Regions from separate parts of the Homo sapiens genome. Here region 2 is linked to region 1. The links are contacts of gene promoters, found by promoter capture Hi-C in blood cells and fetal thymus (Javierre and others, 2016). All regions are on one chromosome and are shown on one strand. The core of a region is centred on a gene start or on the middle of the fragment in contact, and the rest is flanking DNA. Distances in the headings are between cores, read along the strand shown. Region 1 holds the start of AGTPBP1 (ATP/GTP binding carboxypeptidase 1). Region 2 holds the start of GAS1RR (GAS1 adjacent regulatory RNA).

The links. Contacts are between HindIII fragments. The CHiCAGO score rates a contact against its expected background, and 5 or more counts as called.
Region 2: a fragment that was not itself captured here is called in contact with the fragment with the promoter of AGTPBP1 in region 1 in 4 of 17 cell types (fetal thymus, total CD8 T cells, naive CD8 T cells and 1 more); the score reaches 12.9 in fetal thymus.

What each region holds. Positions count from the first base shown.
Region 1 is chr9:85,740,183-85,743,773 of GRCh38, reverse strand. AGTPBP1 (ATP/GTP binding carboxypeptidase 1) reads left to right here and starts at 1,820. Exons shown (of 26, transcript NM_001330701.2): 1 at 1,820-1,999. RefSeq lists silencers at 1,497-2,096, 2,167-2,486 and an enhancer at 2,657-2,806. The HindIII fragment of the contact is 1,776 bases long and covers 1,320-3,095 here.
Region 2 is chr9:86,948,058-86,951,455 of GRCh38, reverse strand. It overlaps GAS1RR (GAS1 adjacent regulatory RNA), which reads right to left and starts at 2,758. Exons shown (of 7, transcript NR_049794.1): 1 at 2,463-2,758; 2 at 457-589. The HindIII fragment of the contact is 930 bases long and covers 1,256-2,185 here.

The DNA of each region.
Region 1 (3,591 bases), core at 571-3,070:
ACAGGCTTCAAAGCTTAAAGGCTAACAGGGTGTGGCCCTGTTGCAGCCTGAGCTGGTAGCGTTCAGGGAAGTGGCTGACAGAGCACGCGATCTGCCACCCGCTGAGCTCTCAAAGTATCTTGCAAATTCTTGAGTTTATATGTATTTCGAAATCCTGTAGTTGAGGTCAGTAACATATATATGGTGTTTGATAAGGTGTAACGTCACATTAGCTAGGAGAGGTGAAGTTTATTTCAACTTCATACACGTGGGATCTGATGAAGAGTGATGTCACATTCCCAGGGGGTGGGGGAGTAGCTCTAAGTTCTTAATTACCGCAAAACATAAATCACTCACTCTTGTGGCAAACTATGTGATTGGAATCATTTCAAAGCTATGTAATGCTGCTATTTATCTTGTGTGGGTTAATCTCCTGGGTCTGTGTTGTGGTCATCAAACTATGCTAACAGTGCTTGTGAAAGTGGGATTCAAATTCCACAAACACACACATCCACATAATATCTTCCTATATTGCAGGTTGACTCATTTAGAAACATGTTCTTTAAGAAAAGTTTCAGGTATATTACATACATATTTAGCATTATTGTAAAATTATTACATTATTATTGGGTATTTTCAGATAATACGTTTCTGATTGGGTGGTTTGGGGTGGTGGTTGTTTCAAAATTATTTTAAATACCGTAACCTATCTTTTAGTGCTCACGATGAGGGAAACTACGATGTTTATAAAATGGCAGTTTCTTGTTCATCTGAATAAAGACATCTACCAAGGGCAAACTGTAAGAAGCACTGTGGTGTACCTTGGGTTACTTTTTGAATTGCTTTCACACCTGCTTAATTTTATTTGAACAAGATCATAAAACAAAACAAAAATCTCACAGTTCTCAATGCATTCCCTTATCTAGTTGTGATATTACATTCCTTACCATAAACAGTAGCAAACATGTTCTTGTGCAACGTGAAAAAGTAAATGATGTCAGTATTTATTTGCAATACATTGCAGTACACTGAAGTACAGTCAAAACAGAAGGGGGTGTATTAGTAATTTCTCTGACACATTACTTTGGCTCAGATAAAACATTCCGCCTTTGCCTTCAGTAGCCAACTTAGCATTACCGTTTTGATTATATGCAGGCACTTTTTCAAAAAACAGTAAATCAGCATGCTATTTTGTTCGCTGCAGCACTAGGCATCTAATTTACTGAGATTTGGCCACAAGGTGCAATCCTGTTGTTTTCTGGGAGCCCGATTGTAGTAACAGCATGTCCCTTCCAGCCTCTTATTATGGACCCTCCTTGAGGTCAGGAAAGGTCTAAGCTTTACCGCAGTCCCCAGCGTTTGATGCGACCCCGGGATCACGTGGGGAGCTTTAAGAACCCTTCCTAAGAAAGTGACTGATTGATGGCGGGGGAGGGGGTGGGCGCGGGCTTAGTTCCGGGAAAAGGCTGGGGCCCTCGTTGGGAGTGTACAGAAAGATGACTTGAAGAACGTGGGGAGTCGCTCGCAGTTCGGTACGGAGGGGCGGTGGCCGGGGCTGCTGGGTACAAGGGACCGGCAGCGCGCGGAACACCCGCCCCTAATTCCCGCTCCCGTGCGCGCTCCGCCCCCACGCGCGCGCTCCCTCCCGTCAGGCGCGCAGAGAGGCGGGGCGCAGCGCGCACGGAGGTAACAAGGGACGCGGCGGGAAGAGGGCGTGCGCTCCGCCCCGCCCCTTTCGCGGCCTCGCACGCCCCGCCCCCACTCCCTGCGCGTGCTGGGAGCCGGCTGGCAAGGCGTGCGGTGGGCGGGGCGCCGCGCTGACGTTGCCCGGGATGCGGACAGGTTCCGCCGCCTCCAGCGCCGCCGCCGCAGCTGCCGCCGCCGCCGCCTCCGCCTCGCCTGCCACCGGGGTTTGTATGAAAACACCGGGCGGCGGGCGGCGAGGGATCCGCCGTGATCCAGGTGCTGAGCCGGGTGCTGCGGCTCTGCGCGGTCCCCGCCAGCGCCCCATCCTGAGCCGGTGAGCGCCCTGCTGCAGTCCTCATGTCCCGGCCGGCCGTCCCTCTGCTCTCCCCGGGCCGCGGGAGATGCGAGCGACGGCGCCCGGGGGTAGGAGGGGCGACCCCGGATCCCTGCGCCCCTTACCTGACGGGTTGTGTAACGCATGTTACACATGTGACGCGTGAGGGGAACGCACTCGGTCTTGAGGGAAAGCCCTGACGGGGTGGGGCTTTGACTGGGTCTGGAAAACGCCTTCCCCAGTCCCCGGACCCTCGGTGGATCCCCGTCCCAGACCTTGCGGAGGGTATCGGGCGCGGTCTCTGGGCGGAGGCCGCCCTTTCTGCTCAGCCCTTTCTCTCGGGCCCGAGCTCGCGGCGCCGCGGGGAGTCCAGCCGAGGGGCTGCAGGGCCGGGGGCGGGCGCGCCCAGCCCCGCTCTCCCCCGCCCCAGTGGTAGCGGGCCGCTGAATCGCGGGCCCCTGTGCTTCGAGAATTCTAGCGTTCCCGACTGAGCGCCAGCAAGGTGGGATTTGCTGTGACATCGGCGATGGGCACGTTTGCTTCCTCTCGCTGGGTGGTTTGAGCTGAAGTGTGTCTTCTGTTTACAACTTGTCGCCTTGAGCGTTTGGTTTGAACCTGAATCAGATCACCCTGGATGACAGTGCAGAGTTTCCTTAGTGTCTTCCTTCCTGAATTGCGGGTTCTCAATTGCAAGTGTTCAAGGACTGTTGTAACCCAAAGGCTTGCTCGACTCTACCGTTGTTTTACCCCTTGTGCGGTATAAACCTCTTACGAGCACCAGGGCAATTGGAGTTGGTTGGGTTCCTTTCTTGGGCGTTTACTCATTGTAGAATGGAGTTTTCATGCATCATAGTGTAATCGATGTGAATGTTGATAATTTAAAGCCCATTTCCCGTTTTAACATAGCTTACTCAAGTGCCTGAAGATAGCGGAAATTTTCTTTGGCAGTATTAATTCTATGTGGGTTTTTTCCTTCAGGTGTTTAACATTGTAGTTGTGTTTAATTACAATGCATGACAATTTGTAGTTAGAAAGGACCTTAACAGTCTTCTTAATCGGTCATTTTCACTTACCTTTTATGTCCGTTTTTTAAGCTTTATGTAAATCAAATTATCCTTTGTGAACTTCTGAATTATTCTTATAAACTGGTTGTCTGAGAAAACCGGAAAGTTATTTTTGTAATTGTATTGTGGAATGTTTTTAGTTCAGTAGGCCAAAAAAGAAATGATTTATTTAAGGAACTTTAAATGGTGCTTATTTTAAAACATGTGCCAAATGTCAAAACCAAACAAAACTCTGAAAGATCTGTATTTCCTATGTAGAATTACTGCGAAATAATAAGTCGTGCCTTACCCACTGTTTCTCATCATGCAGGCAGAGTTCTAATATGACTTGCTCTTTTTCCCATTCCACTTCTCTTAAGTTAAATTCTATGGTGAAGTTACAGGTTCATTTTTAATGATCACAAAACTCTGCCTTGAATTGATTAATCACATAATTACAACTGCAGACTCACTCTGAACTCGGAAATGAAGTGGATAGGCTTAAAACTACCCTCGTATTTGGCCAACATTGCAAAGCATTTAAATCTA
Region 2 (3,398 bases), core at 471-2,970, 1.2 Mb before region 1:
TCAGGCAGATACTAGCATCTTTCACCTAAGCAATTGGACAGGAAGAAAAGTTCTAATGCTCTATTGTTGCATAACAAACCATCTCAAAACTGAGTGGCTTAAAAGAATATTTTTTTGTTATTTCTCAGGATTCTTTGGGTTGACTGAGCTAAGCTCTGCTCTTCTTGCTTGAGGCAAGACCAGAACTAGAGAAAGGTGAGTGTAGTGTCTAAAGTACAAAATTTAAGGAGGCACTCACTCTTGGAGTCTTGGAGCCCAATTATGAAGGTCAATGCCTCCTTACATTTTGCACCAAAATGCCTCACTTGCTTCACGCTGATCTTGACCCTGGCTTGGGGTCTCTCTCATGTGTCTTCAGTAGGATGGCAGCTAGAGCTGGAGTCACCTGAAGGTTCAGCTGGGCTGGACATCCAAGTTAGTGTCTCCACTCACAAGTCTGGTGCCTTCTTCACTCACATGGCTGAAACAGCAGGGAGCTGGCCAGGCATCTCTTTCCTTCTCCATGTATCCTCTACACATAGTAAGCATGGGCTTCCTCACAGCATGCGAGTCTGAAGGTGGTCCAGATGTCTTACGTGGTGACTGGCTTCTGCAGAGCAAGTATTCCAAGAGGCCTGATAAGGTTTGGCTCTGTGTTCCCACCCAAATCTCATCTTGTAGCTCCCATAATTCCCACATATTGTGGGAGGGACCCAGTGGGAGATGACTGAATCATGGGGGTGTATCTTTCCCATGCTGTTTTCATGACAGTGAATGGGTCTCATGAGATATGATGGTTTTAAAAACAGGAGTTTCTCTGCACAAGCCCTCTCGTTGCCTGCTGCCATCCATGTAAGATGTGATTTGCTCCTCCTTGCCTTCCACCATAATTGTGAGGCCTCCCCAGCCATGTGGAACCCTAAGTCCAGTAAACCTCTTTCTTTTGTAAATTGCCCAATCTTGGGTATATCTTTATCAGCAGTGTGAAAACGGACTAATACAAGGCCCGAGTAGAAGCTGCAAGGCTTCTTGTGATCTAGCCTTGGAGGCCCCAGAATGTCAGTCACTTTCACTATGTCCTATTGGTCAAAGTCAGTAAGGCCTACCCAAGACTCAAGGGGAAGGGGATTATACTCTGCCTTTTGATCTGAGTAGTAAGGATGTAAAGGTAGGGAGAAAAGTGATGGAGACCAATTTTGGAGGGTATCTACCACAGTAAGCCCAGTAAACAAATAGGTTTTGGGGATGGAAATTTAGAAGTGCTCTTGGGGAAGCTTAAGTTTGAGATGTCCTTGGAACCAAGTGAATATATACATATGGAGATCAGAGAAAGACTGAGATTGAAAACATCAAATTAGGAGATGCAATTTAAAATCAAGGCACTAGATGTGGTTACCTAAGGAGTTGAGAGACAGAAGGAGCCACCAGGCAGTAAAATGAGAGAACAGGGGAGTATGGAGTTTCGGAAGCCAAAATTTTAGAAAGCGCTTTGAAAAGGAGGTGATCAGTCATGGCCAATGCTGCTGAAACGTCATATAAGCTGAGGACTGAGAAGTGACAATCAGGTAGAGCAAGGTTTTGGTCACTAGCGACTCTACATAATCGAATGGAACTCGATTATGTAGAGTGAATCGAGTGGGGAAAGTGAGTAAAAGCAAGATTTTCAAGTTTTCATGAAAATGGGATAGTGACTGAATAGGGACGTGGAGTCTAGAAGGTTTTACTATTATGTTTTTTTAAGATAGAAGACAGTATAGCCTATTGTGGTGAATGGAAATGACACAGTAAAAAGTGGGCTGAGAACCCCTCAGGCTTGCAATGCTAATGCTATGTGACTGGGATGCAGAAGTCCCCAAAGCATGCAGAGCTCTTGGGCCTCCCTTAAACCCCACTGAGAGCTGTATCAAGGCCAAGGTGGGGCAAGTGTTACCAAAAACACAGCAACAACACAGAAAAGAAACATGTTAACTTTGAGAGCAGTGATTCTCAAAGTTTGAGAGCAGCATTCCCTGAGAACTTGTTAGAAATGCATATTCTTGGGACCCACCAGTCCAACTAAATCAGAAACTCCAAAAACTAGGGATCTGAGTTTTAGGATACGTGCTAAGGTTTGGGTCCCACTATTCTAAAGGAACTCAACAAAAATTCAAGTAAAGATGAAACCGAGTGCTGACTTTGTTCCTTATGGGCCTAAAATAACAAAGCTTTAAAGACAAGAGGGGATTTTTCAATTGTCTAATTGGCTTCGAACCTTACCTGTGGAGGGATCCCAGACACAGAGAAGGTGTCTGAGTTGTCCAAGTCCTCCAGGCCGGACTGAGAGGACAACTCCAAATAATAGAGAAAAAAAAAGAGACAGAGAGCCAGGGATATGGTTGTTTTGATGTGCCATGAAGTTGCAGCCTTTCTGGATTTTTTTAGTATCGATTTATATTGCTGTTTGTCTACCAATACTCAAATCAGAGCAAGACGGTCCGCCTTACCTCAGTCTGGCTCTTTTAAGGTTTGATTTTGGTTTTGGGGACTGCAGAGGTGCAGCTTCCCACGGCAGACCAAGCGCCTCTGAGGAACGCAGCAGCTTCAGCAGGTACAGGAAGATTTCCCGCAGCCGGAGGAATCTCCTAGTGCTGGGCCTCCGGCTGTGACTTTTGCCATTTCAAATTCACTTGGCCTCTAGGGAGAGGCAGACAGCCCGACGCTGAGCGCGTCGGAGCCCCGGCTCCCTCTGCTTCTGGAGAGGAGATTTAGCCTTAATTTTTGTGACAGATGGAGTTGATAGTCTCTCCACGGAAAGGGGAGGAAAAAAGCGCCAGTTTTTGACAGGCCGCAGACGCCCGCTGCCTCTGGTGGCGGAAGGCTGCGTTGCGCCCCAGTTAAGGTAGCTCGGAAACTCCCTCGCCGAGAAGGCAGAGGTTTCCTCTGCAGAGCAGCCTCCCTTAAATATACTGAGGGGCTGAAACTTACACTTTAATATAAACCTTTGGTGCGTGCCCATTTATTCCGTCTTCTGTCCTGTGACTGCGGCCAGGTGGTAATTGCTCGACATTCCTGAATATTTTTAATGCTAGTTAAATTTTTTCATTATTGCACGTGTTGCAAGCTTATCTTCCTAAGAAATTATTTCGGTTGATTGGATTTCGGTCTTGCAATTTGAAAACGATGCCTGGCGCACGGGCGGTACCTGCCAGATGGCCTAGCTGGGGCTGGGGGGTGGCGGGCGGGTTGTAAGCATCTCATCAACATCTCCCTAATAAAGTGTGTGCTTCTTTCTTGTATGCTTCTTTAAAACAGTTTCAGTCTCACATTTTATCTCTGGATTCTCCCCTTCCCCTCTGTGGTGATCAAGACCCAAAGACAGGGAGCCTGGAAGATAAACTGAGTTCTGAATCCAGTCGAAAGCACAGATGGGGGCCAGCGAG